Regions from separate parts of the Homo sapiens genome. Here all the other regions are linked to region 5. Evidence: promoter capture Hi-C in 16 types of primary human blood cells and fetal thymus (Javierre and others, 2016). All regions are on one chromosome and are shown on one strand. The core of a region is centred on a gene start or on the middle of the fragment in contact, and the rest is flanking DNA. Distances in the headings are between cores, read along the strand shown.

Region 1 (3,810 bases), core at 408-2,907, 580 kb before region 5:
AGAAAGAGGTAAGTCGGGGGCGCACGCAGCAAGTTAACAGCCTGAATTTGACTCCAAAGCTTGTGCTGTGAACGGTGCTTCTGAATCTTGAGGTTAACAAGCTTTCTTCACAACCTGTCCTGGGAGGGATTAATTCCACAAATGTGTACTGAAGGCTGAGCGTGGACCACCCCCTGCCCCTTGCTGCCTGTGCGTGGTCATTTTTTTTTTTTTTTTTTTTGAGACGGAGTCTTGCTCTGTTGTTGTCAGGCTGGAGTGCAGAGGCGCAATCTCGGCTCACTGCAACTTCTGCCTCCCAGGTTCAAGCGATTCTCCTGCCTCAGCCTCCCAAGTAGCAGGGGCTACAGGCGCGCGCCACCACGCCCGGCTAATTTTTAGTAGAGATGGGGTTTCACCATGTTGGCCAGGATGGTTCTCCATCTCTTGACTTGGTGGTCCACCCAACTCGTCCTCCCAAAGTGCTGGGATTACAGGCGCAAGCTACCGCACCCAGCTTAGACTGTCTGTTTTGAGGCAGAGGAGGAAATCCGAGGTCCCTTGCCCCGAGGCCTTTCCCAGCTGTCTCCACGAGGACTACTGGACTCCCGCCTGGACCCCCGCCCTGTGAGTGTCCCCTGCTCTTCCCGTCTCTCCGCAGATTCCTCGGGCCCATGGATGTGGAGCCCACTCCCTTGGAGGGCCCTGGGGAGGGAGGCAGCCGACTCCGCTCACCCCCTGCCTGTGCTAGGCAGGCGAGCAGCGTCAGGCGCGGCTGCTGTCCTAGGGCTCCGCCTTAGGCTGACTCCCGCGTGTAGGGCAGAGATGGGACAGGGCCCTTAGCGCAGGGGGCTTTGGGCCCTGAGGACAAGGCGGCACGGAAATGGGGCGGAGATCTCCCCGGCAGCGACGACCCTCGGGACTCTAAAAGTTAGGCCCACTTAGGCCGCCAGAAACGACCCCACGGCCTCTGGGAGGCCTTCCCGCAAGGGGCCGCGAGAGAGCCAGAGGAAGGAGGACTGCGCTGGCCGCCAGCCAATCAGCACCAAGGAATGTCTATGAGGCTGGCTCGCGGGAGAAACCGCCAGTGAGGCGAGGGCCCAGGAGGTGTGGGCGGGGCTTTCCTCCGCGGAAGTGGTCCCGACCCCCTTCGCGTGGATTGGCTGCTCCCACTCACCTGCAAGCCCCTGCTCTACCGCGCTTGCGCAGTCGTTTTCCGTGTAACGCGCGTCTCGGGTTACTTCTTTGCTTGAGTCTCAGTCCATTTGTTTACCCATATGTGCTGCGCTATGTCGTGATGGTGGCGGTCTTCGGTAACGGGGACCTTGGAGGCTGGGAGGGATAACTGGACGTGAAGGGCCAGCACTGGGGGCGAGCTCAGGGCGGTCAGGGCGGAGGGATGGGCGCGAAGAGTGAGGCCTGCAACCCCGCAGGGGGCCCGGGACCCTGGGGAGTTTCCTGCTGGGGTGAGACAGTTGTTAGGTTTGCATTTCAGAACGTTCTGGTAGGGGCTGTGTAGCAGGGTGAGAATGAAGACCTGTGCAAGAAGAGAAGCCGAAAGGGTTCAAGATGGTAGGCAAAGTCATTTGTCATCAACGTTTGCTCGTTCCGCACCTGGGAGAACGCGAGTGCTTTCCTTCTACTGCACAGGTCACCTCTTAGCCCCCTGTTGCAGCTCCTACTCATGCTTCTCCTATACCAGACTTCTTAGCTCTTGGGCACCTCCCTTTCATTTCCTGCAGGCACTTCACAGTCAACAACTGTTAAACTTTTCCGTTCCCCCACCATCTCTGACCTTTCAGAATTTCCCATCTCAGGTGGGTCTCTTTCCCACGTGGTCCCACAGGCCACCACTAAACCCAGTCATATGGAGATATCTGCTGAAATGTGTGCCAGCTCCTCAGGATATGACCCCCTCAAGGACATGGACAGTGGTCCAAAGTCACAGCGCTCAGCATACAGTCTGACTCCACCAAAGGGAAGTTAGGCAACTCGGTTCCCTGTCCCCCCCGCCCCCCCAGTGAGAGCCCATCCTTCTAGTTCTTCCATATCTCACGTATTCAATCTTTTCTCTCCATCCTAATTCTCATCCTCTCCCAAGGACCACTGTGAGCCATTTCCACTCTGTCCAATTCAACAATTGCCTCACCTGGGAAGCCACCTTTCCTGTTCACCTGCCTCCCCTCTGGGAGGCCCACCTTTCCCAAACCCCACATCACAGGTATGGGTGTATCTGTCTTGACCACTCACCTCCCTTTTCTCCCAGGGCTGTGATTTCAGGTCACTCAGCTTCCTGTCCCAGAGACCTTGGCACATGGATGGAATTCATTGTGGGAACTGGATGGATGTGTGAATTAACTATTGAGTAAAATGATTGATAAATCACTTGAGTAGAAAGGGCGCCATGGCTCACGCCTGTAATCCCAGCACTGGGAGGCCTAGGCAGGTGGATCCCTTGAACCCAGGACTTCGAGACCAGCCTGGGCAAAATGACAAGACCCCGTCTCAATAAAAATAAATAAATTGGCCGGGCGCGGTGGCTCACGCCTGTAATCCCAGCACTTTGGGAGGCTGAGGCTGGTGGATCATGAGGTCAAGAGACCGAGACCATCCTGGCCAACATGGTGAAACCCCGTCTCTACTAAAAATACAAAAACTAGCTGGGCGTGGTGGCGCACCTGTAATCCCAGCTCCTCGGGAGGCTGAGGCAGGAGAACTGCTTGAACCCGGGAGGCGGAGGTTGCAGTTAGCTGAGATCGCGCCACTGCACTCCAGCCTGGCGACAGAGCGAGACTCTGTCTCAAAAATAAATAAAATAACTGAGTAATATTTGGGTGGATGGATACACTTTTGGATGGATAATTAGGTCTTAACCCCCTCAGCAGGCTCTGAGATTTGGCTGCTCCCTCCTGGAAACTCACCTCTCTGACCTCTCTCCTTAGCTGGAGACCACCAGGCCCACTGCCTGCCTCCTGTCTCCACATGCATGTCTCATAGTTTGCTGAAACTTGACATTTCCTGAAATAAATACTTGGTTTCTTCTTTAAACCACCCCGCCTACTCTCTGTGCTCCATCCAAGTGGTAAAGCCGAAGGCCTGAGCATCATCCTAGACTTTATTTGCCTCCAAATCCCCATAACCAATCAAACAATTCTTGTCCATTCTGCCTCCTAAACAGCTCTGTGACTCACCCCTTTCTGTCCTCCTGTGACACACGTAAAGTGCAGTACAAGCTTTGGCATTCTAGGCCCCGCTTCAATCCCTTCTTGGGCAGTCTCCCTCAGCCCTCTCTTGCTGAACCCTAGAAGCTCCTGCTATTTCGTTTCTGGGCCACTCTTCTATTCCCGTATTTATGTAATAGAGTAGTCTTTGAATGTTTGCTCTCATTTCTGAAAAACCACATATCCATTCCACAGTTTTATGTTGCTAAAGTTTCTCATCATAAGCTCAAATAGTTGCAAAAGATACAATTTCTGGTATGTTTTAATATTTATATTTTAAAGTAAAATGGCTACATGAGTTGTAATATATCTAGTGGAATCTGAACACCATACATACCATTTTTTTTTGAGATGGAGTTTCGCTCTTGTTGCACCATACTATTTTTATTCCAAATCTCCATTTGAAGATTTACTTAACTCTTGTTTAATATTAGTTACTCCATATTGCCGCCTCCTTTTTTTTTTTTTTGGCCTGAGTTGAGTCTATTTCCTTCCTCTGTCACCCACCGAACTTAACCTAAGTAATATATTTTTATTCTTGGAAGTCTTCTATTTTTGAGACTGAGTCTTGCTCTGTCGCCCAGGCTGGAGTACAGTGGTGCGATCTCGGCTG
Region 2 (4,205 bases), core at 1,005-3,504, 800 kb before region 5:
CACAGCCTGTTGGCCGCAAAGTTCAGGAAAAGTGGAACGCATGAACTGGACACTCAAGCAGCTACTGAAGAAATATTGCCAAAAAACTCATCTGAGATAGTATCAGGTCTAGCCTATGGTCCTCCTCTGAGTCAGATGCACCCCCACCAAACAACTAAGAATTCACCATATGAGATTTTGTTCAGTCGGCCTCCCCCAGTCATAGGTCAAATTAAAGGTGATCTCCGTGAACTAGGAGAATTAATCTTAAGAAAGCCAATGCAGGTTTTAAGGACAGCCTTGCAAAGTGTCCATAGTTAGGTACATGAAAGAATACCTATAAGCCTGACAGACCCAGTACACCCCTTTAAACCTGGAGATTTTGTTTAGGTTAAGAAGTAGAACCAAACTTCTCTAGGACCCATATGGGATGGGCCCTATACTATAATCTTGTCCACTCCCACTGCTGTTAAAGTTGCAGGTGTTGTGCCTTGGATCCACCACAGTCTGCTGAAACCGGAAGCTCAGGACAAGTGGACCAGCCAGCAGGACCCAGATCATCCAATCCCGCTGATCCTAAGACGAGACCAAGCTGCTGTTAAAGACAACCAGCCTGCTGTGGTCACTCCGGAAGCTGACCAGTCTACTCATGGCTGAAACTTGAGGAGACAACAAGCCCTGCTCTAGTCATACACCGGAAGCTGACTAGTCTATACATGGCTGAAGCTTGAGGACTCATCAAGCAAGTAAAGGTGGTTAGAAATCTTAGGACTAGTAGTTTTCCTTGTAATACTAACTGTTTTCCTATTGTTCTGTTGCTGTGCTCAACCTCCTCCCCCTCTTCTGTCCTTGCTGGATATGAATATGCCATACATTGTTTTGCTGTTGTTACCCCCCTTAACCATGCTAGAAGAAGCACCTATAGAAGGGTGTCCCCACTGTACACATACTACCTGGTCAAGGAACAGTATAACTATAACTCTATCGTACCATACTTATAAGTGTACAAGGACTCACTTAAGAACTTGTACTTACAATCAGACCACCTATTCAGTCTGTGACCCAGAGGATGGCCAGCCTTATGTATACTATGACCCTAAATTTTCACCTGGTGAATGGTTTGACATTCACGCAGAGTCAAAGGAAGGTCCCCTTTTAAAACCAGACCAAGGTCCCTCTTTTTTACCAAGGGCCTATTTCTCTGTACTTTGATGCCTGTCAGGCAGCATACCTAGACTCACCTGTCTGTGGTAACTTACCTTTAGAAAGATACTATAGAAATGACTACAAATATGTATGCATGCCAAGAGCAACTCCACCTTGTTCCCCTGGGACCCCAGAAAAACATTGTCAGTAATGCATATCATGGCACCCTAGCACACAACAAAGGCCAATTATGCTTACTGAAATGCCGGTAAACCAGATTATGAAACAAAAACCTGTAATCCTGTAAACTTCACCATTCTAAAGCCAGACCTACCCATGTGGACTGCAGGTTGCCCCATACATGTCTACATACACACATACCCAGCAACTTACCTATATGTTATCAAAAAAGGAACCCGGAGCCGTCCAGCCCAGCAACAGTTCCAAGTCTTTAAGTCATTCTATAAGCATGTAGACCAAAAGTTACCAGAGCCTCCTCCTGTAGCCAAAAATCTGTTTGCTCAGTTGGCTGAAAACATTGCTGGCAGCCTAGGCATTTCCTCATGTTATGTTTGTGGAGGAACTAACATGGGAGACCAGTGGCCTTAGGAAGCAAAAGAGTCAATGCCACAAGATAATTTTACTCTGACTGACTTTTCCCCCAAACCGATGCCCACAAGTTCAAGCGTCTGGCTCTTAAAAACTTCTATTAGGCCAGGCGTGGTGGCTCACTTTGGGAGGCCAAGGCGGGCAGATCATGTGAGATCAGGAGTTTGAGACCAGCCTGACCAACATGGAGAAACCCCATCTCTACTAAAAACACAAAATTAGCTGGGCGTGGTGGTGCATGCCTGTAATCCCAACAACTCGGGAGGCTGAGGCACGAGAATCGCTTGAACCTGGGAAGCTGAGGTTGCAGTGAGCTGAGATTGCACCATTGCACTCCAGCCAGGGCAACAAGAGTAAAACTCCATCTCAAACAAACAAACAAACAAAAAAGCCACTTCTATTATCAGGAGATACTGTGTTGCTTACTGGGGAAAAGCTTTTACAGACCGAGTAAGAGAATTAACATGCTTAGGACAGCAATATTATAATGAAAACCTAAGAAAAACTTTGTGGCGAGGTAAAAATCGTTCCAAATCACCTCATCCAAATCCATTCTCCTGCTTTCTCTTCTGTAAATCACACCTGGTATCAGCCTGAAGCTTTTTGGATGTGAATCCACTGAGCTGGTGAGTTCCTTAAATAAACATCCTCCTGTATTCCCCATATCGGTCTCTCTGGTCCTCAGTTTACCGCAACAGGCATGATAGATTTGTCATGAACAATAATAGCTATAGCAACCTGTCAAGAGGTAAGTAATATAAATATATGTAAATTCAGACAACTAAAAGTCAAAATGGGGGGATAGAGTTAAAGTGTAGAACTGGTCTTTTTTTCCTTTTTTGTTTATCTTCTTTTCTTTGTGATCAAAGTTTAGCTGTCATCTGTTTAAAATAACTTGTTATATCTGTAAGATACATTTTTTGGTTTCCTCACAGGAACTACAATGCAAAAAAAAAGAAAATAGATTCACTGCAAGTAAAAAAAACAACGAATTAAAACATACTACCAAAGAAGATCACGTAGCCACAAAAGAAGACAACAAGAAAGGAAGAAAGGAAGACAAAATTACAAAATAACCAGAAAACAAACAAGAAAATGGCAGTAGTAAGTCCTTTCTTATCAATAATAAAACAGAATGTAAATGGACTCAATTCTCCAATTAAAAGGGTTAGAGTGACTGAGTAGATAAAGAAATAAGACCCAACTATATGCTACTACAAGAAACCCACCTCACCTCTGAAGACACGCATAGACTGAAAGTGAAGGGATGGAAAAAGATGCTTCATGAAACTGGAAACCAAAAGACAGCAGGACTCACTATACTTAGATCAAATAGAATACAAAATAAGACTGTAGAAAGACACAAAAGGGGTCACTATATAATGATAAAGGGATCAATTCAGCAAGTGGATATAATAATTATAAATTTGCATGCAACACCAGAGCTCCCAAGTTTAAAAAGCAAACATTAATAGGTCTGAAGGGAGAGATGGCATGCAATACAATAATAGTAGGGGACTGTCTCAGTAATGGATAAATCATACAGACAAAAAAAATCAATAGAGTAACATCACAATTAAACTGCACACTATACTTAATAGGCCTAAGTAACATCTACATAACATTTGCCCAAATGCTGCATAACACACATTATTTTCATCAGCACATGGAACATTTTCCATAATAGACCACACCTTAGGCCACAAAACAAATCTCAATAATTTTTTTTTTTTTTTTTGAGACAGAGTCTCACTCTGTTACCCAGGCCAGAGTGCAGTGGCCTGATGTTGGCTCACTACAGCCTCTGTCTCCCAGGTTCAACCAATTCTCCTGCCTCAGCCTCCTGAGTAGCTGGGATTACAGGTTCCTGCCACCATGCCCAGCTAATTTTTGTATTTTTAGTAGAGACAGGGTTTCACCATGTTGGCCAGGCTGGTCTCGAACTCCTGACCTCAAGTGATCCACATGTCTTGGCCTCCCAAAGTGATAGGATTATAGGCATGGCCACTGTGCCCAGCCTCAGTAAATTTTAAAAAGTAGAAATCGGGCCAGGCGTGGTGGTTTACACCTGTAATCCCAGTATTTTGGGAGACTGAGGCAAGAGGATCACTTGAGGCCAGGAGTTTGAGACAAGCCTGGCAACAAAGTGAAACTCCAACTCTACAAAACATTTTAAAATTAGCTGGGCATGGTGGCACATACCTGTAGTCCTAGCTACTCAGGTTGTTGAGTGGGGAGGATCTCATAAGCCCAGGAGGTCAAGGCTGCAGTGAGCCATCATCATGCCACTGCACTCCAGCCTGGGCAACAAAGCAAGACCCTGTCTCAAAAAAAAAAAGAAAAAAAAAGTAAAAATCATATCAAGTATCTTTCCTAACTACAATGGAATAAAACTAGAAATCAAGAAGAAAAGAAATGTTAGAAACTTCACAAACACATGGAAACTATGCAACATGCTCCTGAGTGACCAA
Region 3 (3,806 bases), core at 712-3,211, 830 kb before region 5:
AGCTATGATCACATGGCACTCCAGCCTGGGTGACAGAGTAAGAGCTAGTTTCTTTTAAAAAAAAAAAAAAAGAGAGAGAGAGAGAGATAACTGCTGTTAAGATTGGTCTTTATTTGTCCAGGTCTTTTTGAATGCATATAATATAGATTTCCTGAAACTTGCTTCTTTAACAAGGGTATATTGGGTATATTATCATGGGTATATTTCTACTGTTGTATTTTTTTACTTAGAGATGGAGTCTTGCTATGTTGCCCAGGCTGGAGTGCAGTGGCTATTCACATGCACAATCATAGTGCATTACAGACTCAAACTCCTGGGCTTAAGCAATCCTGTCTCAGCCTCCCAAGTAACTGGGACTACAGGCATATGCCACCATGCCTGGCTTTGTACAGTATTTACAGCTCCACCTCATTCTTTTCAATTAGCACACAGTATGCTATAACTACTTCCATACTGACATACATTTAGTTTCTTCAAATATTTCACTAGTAGAACCTCACAATGAATATCCTCACAAGTGATGTGTTCTCTCAGAAGTACAGAGTATTTCTGTTAAATGCATAATTTATTTAATGTCTCCTCTATGATGGTCAGAAGGAATAAACTACTCTGCACAATTTGCCACACTAACTACATTTCATGGCTCTTTCTTTATTATGAATTTTCTTATGTTGCTTAAGGGCTGAACTTCGGGGAAAAGCTTTCCCACATTCATTACATTTATAAGGTTTTTCCCCAGTATGGAGTCTCTGATGTTCAACAAGGCCTGAGCTGTGCCGAAAGGCTTTCCCACATTTCTTACAGTGATAGGGTTTTTCTCCAGTATGAATTCTCTGATGTCCAGTAAGGGTTGAGCTCTTTGTAAAGGCCTTCCCACAGTCACGACACTGATACGGTTTATTTCCACTGTGAGTTTTCTGATGACCAGCAAAGGATGAGCTATACCTGAAAGATTTTCCACATTTACTGCAGTGATAGGGTTTCTCCCCAGTATGCATTCTTTGGTGACTAATAAGAGTTGAGCTCTTCCTAAAGGCTTTTCCACATTCATTACACTGATATGGCTTCTCACCAGTATGGATTTTCTGATGTTCCAACACAGTTGAATTATCCCTGAAAGCTCTCCCACACTTGTTACATTTAAAAGGCTTCTCTCCACTATGTATTCTTTCATGACGAGTAAGAGCTGCATTCTGAGCGAAGGCTTTCCCACAGTCATTACATTTGTAGGGTTTCTGGCCAGTATGAATTCTCTGATGACTTAAAAGGATTGAGTTCTTTCTGAAAGTTTTTCCACATTCAATGCATTTGTGGGGTTTCTCCCTAGAATGAATTCTCTGATGGTTGATAAACGTTGAGTGCTTCTTCAGGAACTTCCCACATTCAATACATCTATAAGGCTGTTTGCCTGCATGAACCTTATGGTGATTTAAAAGGGATGAACTGTTCATAAAGGCGATCCCACATTCTTTACATTTATGTGGTTTCTCACTGGTGTGATTTCTCTGGTGGCTAATAAAGGACGAATTGTATTTGAAGACTTTCCCACATTCCTTGCACTTATAGTTCTTCTCTGTGGAGCTTCTGCCCTCCCAGTCCAGGCCTTTTTCCATCATGACACTTTTCGTTCGCTCTCCCAGAACAGATGCTTCAGAAGTGCTTTGCTTTAGGGCTGACATCTTTGTTTCAAACCAGTAATCCTCGACTGAAAGAAAATTTTAAAAATTCAAATGTTCTTTATGTTGAAATGCTGAAAGTGAGAGTTGTGCAAGGACTTGAATAATGTTCTATTCTACATAACTAAAGGTTATGAAAAATTATTAATGTGTCCCACTTGTGATTCTTGCTGAGAAAAGATGGCCAGACTAAGGGCAGGAAAAGGAAGTATGATTTTAAAGAAAAGAAAAGAATCTGTACTATAAACATTGCATTTAAAGAATGCAGTGAGCCCCTAAGAAGTTGCCAAGTTAGGAAGACAACACAGGAAACAGCTAAAAAAGAAAAAAGACAATGTGAGAATAAATACAAAATTGAGGAGAAAGCCCAGAGTCACAAAGCAAGCTATAATTACTACTAGGGCAGATTTCTGCAGGTGGTATATTTGAGAACATTATGATGTCACCAAGAACTTGAGAAAAATAGTTCTCTGTGAGGATTTAAGAGTGAACCAATATTTAATTGCTCAGTGGAAAAAAGAAAACAGAAAAAATATTCAAGGAACAAAAATAGTTCTCAGGCCAATAAGATTTTACTATAAACTAAATTTTTAACATATCTAAAAAACAACATACCTATGCCAGGCACGGTGGCTCATGCCTGTAATCCCAGCACTTTGGGAGGCCGAGACGGGTGGATTACTTGAGGTCAGGAGTTCGAGCCCAGCCTGGCCAACATGGCAAAACCCTGTCTCTACTAAAAATGCAAAAACTAGCCAGGCATGGTAGCACATGCCTTTAATCCCAGCTACTCGGGAGGCTGAGGCAGGAGAATCGCTTGAACCCGGGAGGCAGAAGTTGCAGTGAGCTGAGATCATGCCACTGCACTCCAGCCTAGGTGACAGAGCAAGACTCTGTCTCAAAAAACAAAAAAAAAATTACCAATCAATGGGTGTACTATGTGAATTTTCTCTAGCTTTTTACAAAGTACAGACACAAGACCTAAGACAGACAGAGCGAAATGATTCAGACAAAAACGTTCTGAAAAACTAATAGAGCCAAACTTGTAGTAAAATTAACAATCACCAACCAATTATTTTACTAAATGCGCTTTTCTTATAAACATAAGTTGTATCTATCTATACCTAAAGATATATACACATACATATATTTATATGTATTTATACTTAGTAGTCTGGGGAGAAATTCCATGCAATGGATATTAGAGCTAAGACTTATTTTTTCAAGGAAATGTAAGTTGAAGGTGAAGCCCAGTCAGAAACAGCCCACATTCTTCCAATGGCCTTTGATGGGATATGTGTTTAATGTATTATGATCAAACTAGAGAAAATTTCAAGATACTGATTGTAAAGCTGGCAACGTGAAGACACATATGGGCACTTCTTCTATGACAAAGGTGGTCTTGCAAAGCAGTGAGGAAGAGGAGATTCTGCATTAGTACATTTTAGGAGAAAAAAAATATATAAACCCTAACTCATATGATGCACAGAAATCCATTCTAAGAGGATGGTAAATGTAAACATAAAAACCAAATAATAAAGCTTCTAGAAATTAACACAGAAGAATATCTTCATGATCTCGGGAAAAGAAAAAATATTAAAATCACAAAAATAATAAATGTTAGTAAATAATTGTTAATATATAATTTAAAATAAACATTTTAAATAAAGCATGACACAAAAAAGCACTGACAAAAAAGAAAGGGATTGATCAAATGGAAGAACTGGGCTGGGCACGGTGGCTCATGCCTGTAATCCCAGCACTTTGGGAGGCTGAGGCAGGAGGATGGCTTGAGGCCAGGAGGTCCAGACCCACCACCTGGGCAACATAGCAAGTCTCCATCTCTACAGAAAAAAAACATGTTTTGAATTAGCTGAGCATGGTGGCATGTGTCTGTAGTCCCAGCTACTCAGGAAGCTGAGACAGGATTGCTTGAGCCCAGAAAAAGGAAGAACTGCTATTCATCAAGACCATTAACAGTCAGTAACAACAGAGAGAGGGATGGTACAATACATGTAATCAATAACAGGCTCTTCAAATAGTTACCCAATCAGAGATGCTCTATAGGGACCAATAAATATTCTAAAAGGTCTTTTTTTTTTTTTTGATACGGAGTCTCACTCTGTCGCC
Region 4 (3,941 bases), core at 618-3,117, 860 kb before region 5:
GTGATGAATGGACCCATATTTAAAGTGCACCAGGAGGCTCAGATGCAGGGCAGTATTCGGAAAAAAAAAAGTCAATATCTGCATAGAGAATAACTTCCAAACCAAAATTGATTTCAGTTTTGCCATAGCTTAGTAGACTGAAAATAGCAAGGATTTTAATGGGAAAAATTCCTTGGATCAGATTCTATAATTGCCATGGCTAGATCTGCAGTATCAGACAGGTTATTTAACTTCCTTAAGCTCCAGGTTCGTCTGTAAAATAGGACAATAAGTTCTATCTTGTAGGGTTGCAGGGATTAGCAATGATAGATGTAAAGTACCCAGGATTGTGCTACATATTTTCTGAGGTCATGGTGCTTATTCTATTGTCAGAACAGATTGGACAGAGGTGGATTTCTGAAGAAGCAAATGCAGCTTCAGTTTTAGGACCCCTCACTTGGATTGGTCTCTCCAAGACCCTGTGCTTAATTTTATACATTTTCTTAAAAGGGTGCCTCTAAAATGGGAAAGTTTTAGGCCTTATATAGCCTGGATCCACACCTGTTTTGGAGTCAGATAAAAGTTGGGTATGGGGCTCTGTGTGATTCTGTATAGTTTTCTAAATTTTCTGAGCCTGTTTTCTGACCTGTAAAATAGAGAAAACCATGTCTATCTTACAAGGTTATTTGTTGGCCTAAATTAAATTTAGAGGCAGTACACTGCTATGGAGAATGCCTATTTGAGTCAGCTCTAACTTACCTAGCTCTGTGACCTTTGACAGGCTCCCTTTGCTCCCATTATCTGTATCACTCTCATGGCATTGTTTTCAGGATTGCATTGTCTATGCAAAGAATAAGGCCTGGCACATCATAAGCACTCAAAGTATTATGTTTCTTTTTCCCTATTCTAACTCAGCATTATTGGTGCTTCTTATATGACTTCCCTCTCATTTTATCAGATGTGATGACTGAAGCCCACCACAAATATGACCACTCTGAGGCTACAGGATCCTCAAGCTGGGATATCCAAAATTCTTTCAGAAGAGAGAAGCTGGAACAAAAATCCCCAGATTCGAAGACACTACAGGAAGATTCACCTGGAGTGAGACAAAGGGTCTATGAGTGCCAGGAGTGTGGAAAATCCTTCCGGCAAAAAGGTAGTCTAACGTTACATGAGAGAATCCACACTGGTCAAAAGCCTTTTGAGTGCACCCACTGTGGAAAAAGCTTCAGGGCCAAAGGCAATCTTGTTACACATCAACGGATACACACGGGAGAGAAGCCTTATCAGTGCAAGGAGTGTGGGAAAAGCTTCAGTCAACGAGGTAGTCTCGCTGTCCACGAGAGACTCCACACTGGACAGAAACCCTACGAGTGTGCTATTTGTCAGAGAAGCTTCAGGAATCAGAGTAACCTTGCTGTTCACAGGAGAGTTCACAGTGGTGAGAAGCCCTATAGATGTGATCAGTGTGGAAAAGCCTTCAGTCAGAAAGGAAGCTTAATTGTTCACATCAGAGTCCACACAGGCCTGAAGCCCTATGCCTGTACCCAGTGCAGGAAGAGTTTCCACACCAGGGGGAATTGTATTCTGCATGGCAAAATCCACACAGGAGAGACACCCTATCTGTGCGGCCAGTGTGGAAAAAGCTTCACCCAGAGAGGGAGTCTGGCTGTGCACCAGCGAAGCTGCTCACAGAGGCTCACCCTTTGACCACTTTCCTGAAGAGAAGTTCTCTTTATGAATTAAGAGTACAAAATCCTCTGAGATGAAGCAACCTATCCAGTTCTATGGAATGAATGGAGAATCTTTCAGAAAGACCATCATTGGGTAGGGCAAACTGATTTTTTTCCTTTCCCCCAAAAGAGTATGAAAAATAAATGTCTTGTTTATTATCATTATCATGTATGTTTTATAATTTCTGTCACTTTATTCTGACCTGATTTTTCAAGGTACCCCCATTAATCTGGTGCCACACTAGAGATTGTTCTGTGTATACCCAATACAGATTTTAAATTTGTAGTTGACACCATCAGGCTTTTATAAATGTAAAAAATCAGCCCCTCATCAATCCCAAGTTATTTTTCTTCCTTACATATTCAAATTAATCTTGTTTTGCCTTCAAAACCACTGGGCAAAATCCATGGGGCAAATCTAGTTACCTTTATAATCTTCTTGTTGAACATTTCATTACCTGGATGATACCCCCAATAACCTATTGTAACTAATCACTCATGTCTATAGCAAGGGGCCTAGCCTTTTATTACAAAAGAAAATTTCTTTCCAAGCCTGCACAGCCTTAGTTTGTGCATTGAGACATACTTCAGTCCTCCACTCCTAACTAGGATAGAGATAATTCACCTGTAACCAAAGAGCAAACAACTACTGTCTGTGCAATTTTTAAAAATCTTTAACCCATTTCTCCCCATCTACTAAAGGGACTCCTACATTTTCAGAGACCTTCACTCCCTCTTTGGTAACAGCAGCAATATCTTGGGGTTGGGTTATCTAGAAAGGATATAAGTGTTATTACTGAACCCAGACTTGTAGTTTGTAGTCAATAATGAACTTCCACTTTCCAACAATACTATCCTCTTCCTCCTGCACACACACCAAGAAATTTGGAATTCTAACCCATCCTTTTTTCTGACCTCCAGGGGATGAGATTTGAAGAAGGCTGCAGAGGAGAAATTGGTTTTGAGGGGAAATTTCCATTTCCATTTTTTAAAATCTTAGCCATCTCTATAATTTTTCATACTGAGCATTTATGTAAGTGAAATGATGAATGATAGAGATTTTGGTTTTCTTGGTAAGACACCATTCCATCCTTTCTAGTGGATCCTATAAATCAGTGGTCCCCAACCTTTTTGGCACCAGGGACCAGTTTCATAAAGACAATTTTCCCACAGAGGGGGATGATTTTGGGATGATCCAAGCACATTACATTTATTGTGCACTTTATTATTATTACATTGAAGTATATAATGAAACAATTATAAGGTACTCACCATAAGGTAGAATCAGTGGGAGTCCTGAGCTTGTTTTCCTGCTACTAGACAGTCCCATCTAGGGGTGATGGGAGACAGTGACAGATCATAAGGCATTAAATTCTCATAAGGAGTGCACAACCTAGATCCGTTGCATGCACAGTTCACAATGGGGTTCACACTCTTATGAGAATCTAATGCTGCCACTATCTGACAGGAGGCAGAGCTCAGGTAGTAATGTGAGCAGCAGGCAGCAGCTGTAAATACAGATGAAGCTTCGCTTGCTCTCCCACCACTCACCTCCTGCTGTGTGCCCCAGTTCCTAACAGGCCACAGACTGGTACTGATCCATGGCCCAGGGTTGGGAACCCCCTGCTATAAATTATTGCTTCCTTAATCCCAAAAAGCTTGTAATAGTAAATCTTTACCATGTAGAGAGGTAAATTTCAAAGGTCTTTGAGCACTGAAACAATTTGGAAACACTGGATTCTAATAATACAAAAATATTCCAAAGATACCACAATAACATTTGAAGCTGTATACAAGAATGTTCATGTCATCTTCATTTATAATAGCCACACACTTAGAAATGTCCAACAATGGGTGAGGGATAAAGAAACTGTAGTATATCCATACAGTGAAATACAACTCAGCAATAAAAAAGAACATACACGTGGTACATCAACAATATGGATGAATCTGAAAGTTTTATTTGAGTTGAAGAAGCCAAATACACAAATAGTATAATTCCACTTATGTGCCTTCACAGAACAGGAAAAACTATGTGTGAGGATTGACTTGAAAGGCACGCAAGGGAAGTTTACAGAGTGAAAACAATGTTCTGTACCTGACATCAGGCAGTTGATGCAGGGGTCTAAACAATTACCAAAATTCATTGAACTCGATGCTTAAGATCCGTGCATTTTATTACATGTAAGATATACTTCAGTAACCATGAAACAGTATAAATGTATTGCC
Region 5 (4,065 bases), core at 1,078-3,577:
CAGAGGCGCTGGAGTTACATTTAGCTCTCCTACTTACTGGTTATATGATTGGAGGTAACTTGTTTTCTTGATCTCAGTTTTCTTACCCATAAAATGAGGGCAAGAATGATTCCTACTCTGGTAAGGCTGCTGGAAGGATTTAGTTGAATAATGTTTAAAGTACACTGCTAGGCATATCACAAGGGCTCACTAAATAAAGCTATGTTAGTATTAAATATTGTAATTTTTGTATTTTATATTACAACTATGTAAAACATACCTGGGGGGAAAAAGCACACTTATCACCATAGAAACAGTTTAAAATTTAGGAACAAACAAAGTCTATAAATTCTTGTATCCTGGGCAATAAACACTAACCAGTATGCAGATGCTGGAGGCAAGGCAGCTTCTATGGGAAAAGCTTCTCACGTTTTAGTGAAAGCCACACACCATGAATCTCCATGTCCTTTGGAGCTGGACTAGACTCGTGAATCCAAATGTCACCTGTGAGAGGCTCCTACTATTTAAAAAAAGAATCAATGGAAGAATGACCAGACCGTAGCCTAACATACCTGTGAAAGGATCGAGCCATCCGCACAGCAGACTGAACTGCAAAAGCTTTGGGATTTCTCTTCCGGGCATCTTCTTCGTCTCCTAGCTGGAGATCCTGCAGAAGCCGCTTCTTTTTCTTTGCAGCTTTGGGTCCACTGTTTTTCTTTCTGTGTTTCTTCTGGTCCTTAGCCTCCATAGTGGCTATTTACCAATAACAAGTAACTCTAACCTACAAGGAAGAAGGTTGGGGTAAGGAGATGGGAGAAGCATTTTACAATCCAGGCAATACCCAGGGAAAAACAGTAAATTTCATTTATTTCTTTATGAAGAGATGATGTATTTGTTCACTGAACAAGGGTAGAAACTGCTTAACCATCCCCAATTTCATTTCTCTCTGTTATGCTATAAATTAGATGAGTTACCTCTCTTAAGATTACATTTTATGGTTAAGTTACTTTTTATTCATCTTAAGTGTCAACATCAGCAGTATCTATTTCTGCAAGGATAGAAATATACTATATCTGTACTTTTCAGCCATTTAGCCATTAGCCACATGTGGTTACTTACAATATACTTAGGGAAACTGAAAAAATGAGTTTTTAATTAATTTCATTCTAACTCCAAATAGTCACATGTGGCTACCATACTGGACAGCTCAGACCCAGGTATCAACTGGACTGATGAAGTGGTTTCCTAACTTAAACTAAAACTTAAATTTTAATAAAAAAATGTGAAACGTTTTTATGAACCTCCAATATGATCGCAGTATTACTTTTAGTACCTGTTGACTCTGTAAAACTCCTAAATTACAACTTATCTACATACATTTGAAAAATAGAAATAGCTGTACGTGTGAGATAGGACTGGTTCTAGATGACACCTGGAGACCCCATGAACTTACAGAGACCCTTCCAGTGATTTCTGAGTTACCTGGGAATCTGTGGCTAATAAATTGGCAATCACTGAATTAGTGAGTTATTTTAGGAAATCGGGCTGCATAAAATCTGACAGCTTGATTAAAAAAAAAAAGCGGAGCAGGATGCCATTTCATTCAATTAAGGTACTGTATTCATTCCGTTGAATAAATATTTGTGTCTGTCTACGATGTGCTAGGCACTGTGCCAGTAAGTGGATACAGCTATTATCTGACTTGCAGAGGAAATCCAAACTATTATCTTCCGCGCCACGCAATAAGGGCGACATTGGAAGGCTGCACAGGGTGCTACTGGAGCACGGAGGTGAGTCAGAGGCTTCCCACAGACACACACCAGCGGAAACAAAGTCTTTATGTATTACCATAATGTCAAGAACACTGGCCAGGAGTTAGGAGAGCTGGGCGCTAGGAACGCTTTGAAACCGAATAGCTGTGTGATTTCAGAGATTATGTTTCTTCTCTGCTATATTTTAGTTCAGCACTTGTACTAATGTTTCTCTCCCTGTCTTTCTTCTTGGTGGGAAAAGCACAATTTGGGGTCAACAGATCCAGCTCAGGTCTAAGTCTCCTACCGGGACCACGTCGCCAGGAAACGACGTCGCCCAGCCACCTTCCCTCCCCGTCTGGGCTCTCTGCAGGGATTCATCACGTCACTCACCCAACTACCCCAGGACACCTCCGCCAGATGAGAAATATGCCGCTCCTCGGGAGCAAAGATGACCCGGAGGACCGGGGGAGGACCTTCCCACACGCACGACTCGCGATCTTCCCAGTGCCCCAGAACCAGGGACCCCACCGCCGCCTACCCCAACCCGCAGCACCGAACCTGCTCGCAGCCGCGACTCCTCAGGTCAGCATGGACACCGCCGGAAACGGAAATTCACAGTCGCGCTGACTCGCCGGAGGGAAACAAGAAGGCAGAAAAAAGAGACCGGCATGGGGACGGCTTTCAGGGGAGAGCCTGAAGAAAGAGGGCTGAACAGCTGAGTGCGGACGCAGGCGCCGTCCGCGCAGTGCGTTCCACCGGGTCCAGGTCCTTCCAGATTCCTCTCCACCCCGCCCTCGGAATCCGCGGCCTCAACTTCCGCGGTGGGACTCCGGAGCAGCGTGCGCCGCGCTCGCCTGAGTTCTCGCCGAAGGCCAGGGCGGCTCTGCGGCCTGGCGCCGGTTAGTTAGTGTGGTGCAAAAGCCGGAAGGAGACACATTTGGTCCTGGCCTCCCGGCAGTCACCGTGCCAAGGACGAATGGACTATCGCTTGATTTGGAGTACACTTCCTCCTCTTTAAAGATTACAGATGAGGGGGATCTCGCGTTCTGGGGTGCCCTAAAGCCCTCTTTTGGCAGGGCGCAGTGGCTCACGCCTGTAATCCCTACACTTTGGGAAGCCGAGGAGGGAGGATTGCTTGAGCCCAGGAATTCAAGACAAGCCTGGGCAACATAGGGAGCCTACCTCTCTCTCTTAAAAAAAAAAAAAAAAAAAATTAGCCGGCATCGTGCCGGGCGCCTGTGGTGCTTGTGGTCCCAGCTACTCTGGAGGCTGAGGTGGGAGGATCGCTTGATCCCAGGAGGCGGAGTCTGCAGTGAACTGAGATGAGCCACTGGACTTCAGCCTGGGCAACAGAGCAAGACACTGTCTCTAAGAAAAATAAATAACATAAGGCCCTCTTTTGCCAGGACCAACAAACCGTGAGGGCAGGGACAAACTGACCCAGCCTAAACTGCCTCGCCCTCCCTAAACCCGGGAAAGGGGCTTTACCTGAGTGAACGTAGCATCTTGCCGTTTTCTTACTGCACAGCTTTACCTTCCCAGGGATCCGCCCATTGCCACCTGAGGAAATGCCTTGGAGTCCATCTAATCCCCAGCCCAGCTACTTGGGAGCCTACAGAGCGTACATTGTCAGAGGATGCATCTTCCTTTAGTCTTGGAGGGTTTCTTTTCAATATGATCCCGCTGGTGCATTCAAGGCTCAATTCTACACCAAAAACTAGGCCCACTCCTGTCACGAGAACCCCAGGCGTCAGGTCTTCTCACAGGCACCTTGTTCTTGCCCTCAGCAGCCCCCAGGTATTCACTCTGCATATTCTAGATACTGGGTGCTGGACTTGGGAGGCTACCCACGTGGCACATGCTTCCCTTATCCCTGAAGAGCTTAGAGTGTTGTAACTTCTTCACACTACACCTCTTACTTCTTGAAGATTTCAGTATCCAGGTAGATAATCCTTCCAACATCCTTTTGGTCTCATGAAGCCCACTCCTGTCCTCTGCCCTACCTCAGCTTCCCCCTCCCTCCATGATCAGACCTTAGACCTTGTCAGGTCCAAGGACTGCAACCCCCACAGTATCCCACTCTGACCAGGTCTATCTATCCTCCTATCTGTCCAGGTCACTCCCTATACTGCCCTGAAACAAAACTCCTGCAACCTTACCAGCACCTCCAATCAAGATCTTACTACTTGTTCACTGTTTCTTCCTTTATGACCCTCTCTAGTGAGCCAGCTTAAACTCAATGGCCAACCATTCTCATTGATCCCTTGCACACCTCCTCAACTCATGCACCTCCCTGTCATCTCCTATCTGCTTGGTAAGATGGGAGCCCTGG
Region 6 (4,235 bases), core at 661-3,160, 630 kb before region 5:
CGCCAACACGCCCGGCTAATTTTTTTTTGTATTTTTAGTAGAGACAGGGTTTCGCCATGTTGCCCAGGCTGGTCTCAAACGCCTAACCTCAGGTGATCCACCCACCTCGGCCTCCCAAAGTCTTGGGATTACAGGCGCGAGCCACCGCGCCCGGCCGGCCACAACTTCTTAAGAATACCTACCTATCTGATTTTCGCCCCTTTCCTATGATGCTGAATACCTATCTGATTTTTGCAGGAACTATTTTCTGTAATTTTGCCTCAAATTATGCAGTTTTCTCTTTGGACATTTTTACCTATTCTGACAGCTCCTGCTTTACTCTTTCCATTCTCTTTCTTGGAACTAGCTTTTTCTTTTAACAAACTCCTTCCTTCATCACAATCATCCCACTCATCATCTGACACTATTTTGAGCACTCCTTTACTTTCTCTGGTGATTTAAAAAATAACGTTCAGCCAGATGCGTGGCTCAATCCAGTAATCCCAACACTCTGGGAGGCGTAGGTGGGCGGATGGCTTGAGTCCAGGAGTTCCCGACCAGCCCGGGCAACACAGCGAAACCTCGCCTCTACAAAAAATACAAAATTTAGCCGAGAGTGGTGGTGCTACTCAGGAGGTTGAGGCAGGAGGATCGCTTGAGCCCAGGAGGTCGAGGCTGCAGTGAGCCGTGATTGTACCACTGCACTCCCGCCTGAATGACAGGGCGATACTCAGTCTGGAAATAATAACAATAGTAACAATGTTCAGCTTAACCTGTGATGAGTGCCTTGACATCATCTCTTCATGAAGAAGATCCACCAAAATAAAATGGTTACAATTATTAGCCCTACAATACATCAAAAAAAAAAAGAAAAGAAAGAAAATCTGTCCCTGGCTTAGCCATTAGCCACCAAATCTGTGTGTTCAGGTGCTCTGTGACTGAAAATCTTGCCCTCGACCTGGGTCTGAGTTACATTCTGAGGTTTGGGGGCTTCTCACACCACGGAATTTATCACCTGAGCAACTTCAACCTGACAAATCCCTCCTAACGCCCTGCTCTGAGACCCCTTTAGGCGGTCTCCGGAGTACTCAGTGTACCTTTTTTTTTTTTTTTTCTTTGAGACGTAGTCTCGCTCTGTCGCTAGGCTGGAGTGCAGTGGCGCGATCTCGGCTCACGCAAGCTCCGCCTCCCGGGTTCAAGCGATTCCCCTGCCTCAGCCACCCGAGTGGCTGGGACTACAAGCGCGCGCCACCACGCCTGGCTAATTTTTTTGTATTTTAGTAGGGGTTTCACTATGTTGGCCAGGATGGTCTCGATTTCCCGACCGCCTGATCCGTCCGCCTCGGCCTCCCAAAGTGGTGGGATTACAGGCGTGAGCCACCGCGCCCGGCCTTCAGTGTACTACTTTCCTTATTTTATTTTTTGAGACAGCGCCTCGCTCTGTCGCCCAGGCTGGACGCAATGGAGCAGTCACGGATCACTGCAGCCTCGACCTCCCGGGCTCAAGCGATTCTCCCGCCTTAGCCTCCCAAATTACTGGGACCACAGGCTTGCGCCACCACGCCCTGCCATCGGCTCTCATTTCCTTTTCCCATCCTAGTCTTCCATCAGGCGTCCTTTCGGCGCACATTTCAGTGTCCTGCGGGGCTCACCAGTGTCCTTCCTCCAGGGCCTCAGGGGCAGTCAGAGGGATCTTTCCCGCCGCTCCACTCCCTCCTCCTCCTCCCCCTCCCCCTATCCCCTCCCCTCCCCTCCCTTCTCCTCTCCAGAAACGTCCTCGCTTGTCCGCCTCCACCGCCTCCCCCGCCAGCCGTGTCGGCTCTGCTCCGCGCCCAGCCGGCCAACCGGCGGCTCAGCTCTGGCGCGTCACAATGCGCCGTCGCGGCCCCGCCCCCGGACGCCGGACGCAGAAACTCCGCCCTGCCGCGGTCCTTGCGTCCTTCCGGCTCCGTCGTGGAAGCAGGACTGCGCCGCGTCTTCCTCAAGGTGGGGTTCGGGGGGCCACCGAATCGCTGTCACGCCGGCAGGTAGCAGGGGGTGGGGACGCGGGCTCCTTGGGCTTCTGTTTCCTGGTGTCCAGGGCAAAGGGCTGAGCCGGGCAGTAGGGCCTAGTCGGGGCCTGGCTCGCCGGGAGCAGGAGGGCTTCCGGCAAAGCCGCGTGCGCTCGACGGGCAGGCGCTGAGGATTGGGGCCGGCAGCGCGCCTGACCCCGCCCCTCGTAGGCTCCGCCCCGTGCTCGCAGGCGGGGGTTTCCATGGTGATGGTCAACAAGCCTCAACTGCCTCTGCTACAACTGCCAAGTTCCCCGCGTCCCACCCTCCTCTAGGTGCTCCAAGGGACCACCGGGGTGCCTGATATGAGAGCGGGAGTGTAGAGACTCGGAGGCCGAGGTGAGGGGCGGCCGAAGTCTCCGAGGTCGAAGGCCGCACACCCGGGACCTAGCGGGGACCGGGTCCCCCTGGGGGTGGGGACGGGGGGTGGGATTTGAGATTAGGGAGACTATCCGAAGTCCAGGGCCCCGTACCCGGACTACCTGGGGACTGGGCCTATTGGGGTGGGGATCGTTGGGCTGGGGCTGGGATTTGGGATCAGGGAAGAGCGATCTGAGTTTAAGCGCCGCAAACCTGGGACCGAGCGAGGACTGCACATAATGAGGGGCCGTGGCGCTGAGATTTGGGTGACGGGATTCGAGGTCGAGGGGCCCGTACGTGGGACCGGCAAGAACTGGACCCACTGGGATCGGGAGACGCAGCGTCGGAGGTCGAGAGCCGCACGCCCAGACAGTGGTCCCACGCGGTGAGCACCGCGGGCTGAGATTTTGGAGTCAGGAAAGCGCGGGGAAGGCACGGACGGCCGGGTGCGTTAGTCCGGCCCCCTGGCGGGGAGCTGGCGACTGCCGGAGGGCTCTGAAAGTGAGAACAGGCCTGGCGCAGTGGGAGGCCCAGCCGGGAGGATCTCTTGAGCCCAGGAGTTCCCGACAAGCCTGGGCAACATAGACTGTCTCTACTGAAAAGTAAAGAAAAAAAAATTAGCCACGTGTGGTGGCGCGCGCCTGTTGTCCCAGCTACTCGGGAGGCTGAGGCGGGAGGGTCGCTTGCTCTGAGGTCGAGGCTGCAGTGACAGTGATTGTGCCACTGCATTCCAGCCGGGCGACGGAAATGAGACCTTGTCTCAAAAGAAGTAATAATAGTAATAATACCTGAGTAAAATGAAAGCCGCGCGCTCACGTGGCTGCAGGCGCCTGAGAGTTGCACAAGACTTCCTTGTGGGGAGTTGGCTCCGCCCTCCTCCCACGCCCGGTTCCCGTAGCCTTAGCTCTCGGCCCCGGGCCCTTTTTCCTCCTCGGCTGCGCCGCGTGTCCTCGGAGCGCGGTCCCTGTATTGGTCTCCTGCTCCTAGAGGTATCGTGTTTGTATTTGGGGTGAAAATCTGACTCGTGCGCGCTCTTCAGCTTAGTCGTCCTTTTTTTTTTCCTTTTGTTTGTTTGTATTAAGTATTTTCGTCGATTCCGCCCTGCTCGTAGGAAACTTGTGGACGGGGCCCGGCTCCTGCTGCGCCGGCTGCCCGGCTCCCCCAACCGCAGAGTCGTGGACCAGGGTTTTGAGGAGCAAGGCACCCGACTCGCCCTCCCCCCAAGGCCGCCCCGGGCGCGGGAACCCCTCCCCCTAGGCGCCTGGGACCCCCGCTCGGCTCCGCGTGTGTCCCGGCGGAGGGTGGAAGGAGAGCCGAGCTCGGCCATTGCCCGCGGGCGGCCCGGGGACGAGCTGACGCGCCTCTTTAGTTCTCGAAACTGCTCGCGGGCGCTGGGGGCTCGGGCCGGCCATCTGCGTGGCGGGACGCGAGGCGCGCGCTGGCGGCTGCGCGCGAAGGGCAACGGGCGGCGGCGGCGGCTTCCCGGAACCGCGCGGGGCGGGCCCTGCGCCGGGGTCAGGGCCACAGCCTCAGGCGGCAGGGAGTTCTGAAAGCGTAGTTTTCAGTCGTTCCGTCCCAAAAGTCATCTTAATTCTTCCAAAAATACACGCATATAATTCTTTCTACTTAGTTATATTTTTAAAAGTTAAATACGTGGTTGTCTCTGAATTCCTAGTAAGATGAAAATTTCTTGGGTTCTCCAGGTAGGTGAAAGATACCTTAAGTGCTATTCCTGCAAAGTGACTCGTTGCTCTCACAGAATTTATAAACTATAAAATAAGACATTACTACTTTAATGAATATTAAGAGAGAGATTGCTTTATTCCTAAGCAAGAAGATCTTTTC
Region 7 (3,969 bases), core at 265-2,764, 700 kb before region 5:
CGGAAAAGGCTCTCACATGTTCATTATATTCACAGGGTCTCCCATGAGCACACTCTCTTATGGGTACTGCAGGCTGCCTCTTCATGAAAAGCCTTCCCACACTGATTGTATTCAAAACACTGCTTAAGAGTTTGAATATACTGATGCCTAAATAAGTCCTCATTCTGAGAGACGGCTTTCCCATTTCCATCATATTCCAAAGGTTTCCCTCTGGCATAAGGATTCTCACGCTTCATACAGAGGAGAAATTTCCCACGTACATTACACTCAGCAGGGTTCCTTACAAAGGAGCTTCTATTACTAATAATTAATTCTGAAATATTATTCAAATTCATTCCAGATGAGTCACAGTTGCCACGTATTTTTCTTGATAGAATGGGGTTTGTGTCAAGAGAAAATGTTTTTCCTAATACACCATTTCTGTCCATAGTCAGTGTTTTATTGTTGACAAAATCAACTTTCTGCAAATGCTGGTCTTGATTTTCCTGTCTCTTCTCCATCAGGTCATCATCTATGCAGCAGTCTAGAAATAATAATAAGTTATCACAGATTATAAATGTTAACATATTTTTCATGAAAAAGAGACATATTCACATGCTTTTTTTTTCTTTTTTTTTTTGGCACAGTGTCTGGCTCTGTCACCCAGGCTGGATTGTGCAGTGGTGTGATCATGGCTCACTGCAGCCTCAACCTCCCAGGCTCAGGTGATGCTCCCACCTCAGCTTCTCGAGTAAATGGGATTACAAGTATGTACCACCATGCCTGGCTAATTTTTTGTATTTTTTGTAGAGATGGAGTTTTTTGCCTTGTTACTCAGGCTGGTGTCAAACTCCTGTTGCCCAGGCTGTAATGCAGTGGCAGCATCACAGCTCACTGCAGCCTTGACCTCCTGGGCTCAAGAAATCCACCTGCCTCGGCTCCCAAAGTGCTGAGATTACAGGCATGAGACACTGCACCCGGCCCAGGCTGTTCTTATAACAGGATCATATGCATACCTTTATTCATCTAGAATATCATCATCTAACTCATAGTCTGAGATTTCACTTATGCGATCAATTATACTGTAATTATTAGAGTCTACAGTGGTTCTGCTTCATCTTCTGATTTGCCTAATAATTGTGAAGAGTCTTCCTCTTGTCAATTTTCTACTCTTTGCAATTAATGGAAGAAAATAAAAGCTCTGAACTCTCAACTGTGCCCATTGAATTATTAAAAAAAAAAAAGAGAGAGAGAGAGAGGTGGGCGCAGTGGCTCACGCCTGTAATCCCAGCACTTTGGAAGGCCAAGGAAGGTGGATCACCTGAAGTCAAGCGTTCCAGACCAGCCTGGCCAACATGGCAAAACCCCATCTCTACTAAAAATACAAAAATTAGCCAGGTGTGGTGGTGTGCATCTGTAATCCCAGCTACTCGGGAGGCTGAGGCAGGAGAATCGCTTGAACCCGTGAGGCAGAGGTTGCAGTGAGCCGAGATCATGCCACTGCATTCCAGCCTGGGTGACAGAGTAAGACTCCATTTCAAAAAATAAAAAAATAATAATAAAAAGTGGCCAGGTGCGGTGGCTCACGCTTGTAATCCCAGCACTTTGGGAGGCTGATGGGGGTGGATCACGAGGTCAGGAGCTCGAGACCAGCCTGGCCAACATGGTGAAACCCTGTCTCTACTCAAAATACAAAAATGAGCTGGGTGTGGTGGTGCGCACCTGTAATCCCAGCTACTCAGGAGGCTGCAGCAGGAGAATGGCTTGAACCTGGGAGGTGGAGCTTGCAGTGAGCCTAGATTGTGCCACTGCACTCCAGCCTGGGCAAGAGAGCAAGACTCCATCTCAAAAAAAAGAAAAGAAAGAAAAGAAAAGAAAAGAAAAGAAAGAAGGAAGGAAGGAAGGAAGCAAGGAAGAAAGAAAGAAAAAGAAAGAAAGAAAGAAAGAAAGAAAGAAAGAAAGAAAGAAAGAAAGAAAGAAAGAAAGAAGGAAAGAAAGAAAAGAAAGAAAGAAAGAGAGTCAGGTGCAGTGGTTCACACCTGTAATCCCAGCACTTTGGGAGGCCGAGGCAGGAGGATCACCTGAGGTCAGGAGTTTGAAACCAGCCTTGCCAACACGGCAAACCCCGTCTCTAGTAACAATACAAAAAAATAAAAAATAGCCAGGACACAGTGGTGGGTGCCTGTAGTCCCAGCTACTCGGGTGGCTGAGGCAGTAGAGTCACTTGAACCCGAGAGGCGGAGGTTGCAGTGAGATGAGATCACACCACTCCAGTCCAGCCTGGGCAACAGAGTGAGACTCCATCTCAAAATGAAATGAATAAATAAAATAAAAACAACAAAAAAAAGAAAGAAACTACAAATAAGGTTTCTCCAGGCTTCTTTTATATTTTTGTCACAAGTAATGCTTCAAGCAGCTCAATAAGAAAATTGAAGGATGATGTAATAGTGACAGTGTTCTTTACTATTCTATTATCCTTACAAGCAATTCCATCATTCTTTTCTATTTTAGTTTATTTTACCACAGTTGGACATAATTGATGAGTAATGTTGAAATAATTGCTAAGAAATAACATACCAAAATGTTTCAAACTTAAGAAAAATAGATCACTAAAATAGTATCATGCTTCTTAGATTATAAATGGGACCAATTCACTCAAATGATAACAGCAAAAACAGAATGAGTTTCATTCAATTAAAAAATAAAAGTAGGCCAGGTACAGTGGATCAAGCCTCTAAACCAGCACTCTGGGAGGCAGAGGTGGAAGAATTGCTTAAGGTCAGGAGTTCAAGACCAGTCTGAGCAACACAGCAAGACCTCATCAGTACAAATTTATATATATATATACACACATATATATGTGTATATATGTGTGTATATATATATACACACATACATACATACATATATTCACACACACACACAAATATATATATATATAAATTTTCTCTTTGTTTATCTAAGTTAGAAAAAAAATTTTTTTGAGATAGGATCAAAAGAGATCGGCTACTGCACTCCAGCCTGGAAGACAAAGCGAGACTCCATCTCATTAAAAAAAAAAAGAAAAAAGAAAAAAGAACTGCATCAAAAATAAACTCAAAAGCTAAATTTGGGTCCACTGAGAGGTAACATTCTATTTTGTTTATTATTTGGACCATATATCATTTATATTCCTTTTATATTCTAAGGTTTCATGTTCACATTTCATATATGATTCTCAAACTCCATATAGCTTGATTTTTGTTTTGTTTTTACAGACAGGCTCTTACTCTGTCATCCAGACTGGAATGCAGTGGCATGATCATAGCTCACTGCAGCTTCAAACTCCTGGGCTCAAGCGATCCTCCCACTTCAGCCTCCCAAAACTGAGACTACTGGTGTATGACCATGCCTGGCTAATTTTTTTTTTATTTATTTTTGAGACAGAGTTTCGCTCTCGTTGCCCAAGCTGGAGTGCAATGGCGCAATCTCAGCTTACCACAACCTCCCCCTCCTGGGTTCAAGTGATTCTCCTGCCTCAGCCTCCCGAGTAGCGGGATTACAGGCATGTGCCACCACGCCCGGCTAATTTTGTATTTTTAGTAGAGAAGGGGTTTTTCCATGTTGGTCAGGCTGGTCTCGAACTCTCAACCTCAGGTGATCCACACGCCTTGGCCTTCCAAAGTGCTGGGATTCTAGGCATGAGCCACCGCGCCTGGCCTAATTTTTTATTTTTTGTACAGATGGGTCCTCATTGTGCTGCCTGGGCTGGTCTCAAACTCTTGACCTCAAGCAATCCTCTTGGGTTGGTCTCCCGAAGTGCTGGGATTACAGCAGTGAGCCACTGCACTGAGCCTATATAACTTGGTTTTTGAAAATCCAATTTGACAATATCCATCTTTTAATAAGATGGTTTAGCCCCTTTAACTGTATTATGATTTCTAAAATATCTGGATTGGTTTTCTCTTTTTCACTTAAGAGTTTCCAGTTTTTCTAATTTTTACCTGCCTT

The links. Contacts are between HindIII fragments. The CHiCAGO score rates a contact against its expected background, and 5 or more counts as called.
Region 1: a fragment that was not itself captured here is called in contact with the fragment with the promoter of BMS1 in region 5 in 1 of 17 cell types (total B cells); the score reaches 5.2 in total B cells.
Region 2: a fragment that was not itself captured here is called in contact with the fragment with the promoter of BMS1 in region 5 in 3 of 17 cell types (total CD8 T cells, total CD4 T cells and naive B cells); the score reaches 6.8 in total CD8 T cells.
Region 3: a contact is called between a fragment that was not itself captured here and the fragment with the promoter of BMS1 in region 5, in 1 of 17 cell types (naive CD4 T cells). The highest score is 5.2, in naive CD4 T cells.
Region 4: the fragment with the promoter of ZNF32-AS1 here is called in contact with the fragment with the promoter of BMS1 in region 5 in 1 of 17 cell types (total CD8 T cells); the score reaches 5.2 in total CD8 T cells.
Region 6: a contact is called between the fragment with the promoter of HNRNPF here and the fragment with the promoter of BMS1 in region 5, in 4 of 17 cell types (naive B cells, naive CD4 T cells, naive CD8 T cells and 1 more). The highest score is 8.0, in naive B cells.
Region 7: a contact is called between a fragment that was not itself captured here and the fragment with the promoter of BMS1 in region 5, in 1 of 17 cell types (neutrophils). The highest score is 5.5, in neutrophils.

Annotation. Positions count from the first base shown.
Region 1 is chr10:43,359,646-43,363,455 of GRCh38, reverse strand. No RefSeq gene overlaps it. Among named protein-coding and RNA genes, the nearest start is that of FXYD4, 10 kb to the left of the region's middle. RefSeq lists enhancers at 1,267-1,356, 954-1,866. The HindIII fragment of the contact is 3,108 bases long and covers 104-3,211 here.
Region 2 is chr10:43,581,677-43,585,881 of GRCh38, reverse strand. No RefSeq gene overlaps it. Among named protein-coding and RNA genes, the nearest start is that of ZNF239, 9.2 kb to the right of the region's middle. The HindIII fragment of the contact is 163 bases long and covers 2,173-2,335 here.
Region 3 is chr10:43,614,190-43,617,995 of GRCh38, reverse strand. ZNF485 (zinc finger protein 485) reads right to left here. Exons shown (of 5, transcript NM_145312.4): 5 at 92-1,705. The coding sequence ends at 627. Among named protein-coding and RNA genes, the nearest start is that of ZNF485, 9.7 kb to the right of the region's middle. The HindIII fragment of the contact is 2,517 bases long and covers 703-3,219 here.
Region 4 is chr10:43,641,798-43,645,738 of GRCh38, reverse strand. It overlaps ZNF32-AS1 (ZNF32 antisense RNA 1), which reads right to left and starts at 1,867. Exons shown (of 2, transcript NR_047557.1): 1 at 1,632-1,867; 2 at 692-889. It overlaps ZNF32 (zinc finger protein 32), which reads left to right. Exons shown (of 3, transcript NM_006973.3): 3 at 938-1,877. The coding sequence ends at 1,689. All of the region lies in intron 1 of ZNF32-AS3 (ZNF32 antisense RNA 3), which reads right to left. RefSeq lists an enhancer at 1-103. The HindIII fragment of the contact is 1,613 bases long and covers 1,628-3,240 here.
Region 5 is chr10:42,781,057-42,785,121 of GRCh38, reverse strand. BMS1 (BMS1 ribosome biogenesis factor) reads right to left here and starts at 2,327. Exons shown (of 23, transcript NM_014753.4): 1 at 2,292-2,327; 2 at 552-760. The coding sequence starts at 727. RefSeq lists an enhancer at 2,147-2,496. The HindIII fragment of the contact is 6,696 bases long and covers 600-4,065 here.
Region 6 is chr10:43,406,861-43,411,095 of GRCh38, reverse strand. It overlaps HNRNPF (heterogeneous nuclear ribonucleoprotein F), which reads left to right and starts at 1,910. Exons shown (of 4, transcript NM_001098204.2): 1 at 1,910-1,965. RefSeq lists silencers at 1,491-1,720, 2,171-2,290, 3,571-3,940 and enhancers at 2,011-2,070, 2,801-3,140, 2,580-3,183, 3,151-3,200, 3,341-3,400. The HindIII fragment of the contact is 6,154 bases long and covers 1-4,235 here.
Region 7 is chr10:43,477,983-43,481,951 of GRCh38, reverse strand. It overlaps ZNF487 (zinc finger protein 487), which reads right to left. Exons shown (of 4, transcript NM_001355444.3): 4 at 1-523. The coding sequence ends at 30. Among named protein-coding and RNA genes, the nearest start is that of ZNF487, 43 kb to the right of the region's middle. The HindIII fragment of the contact is 5,148 bases long and covers 1-3,969 here.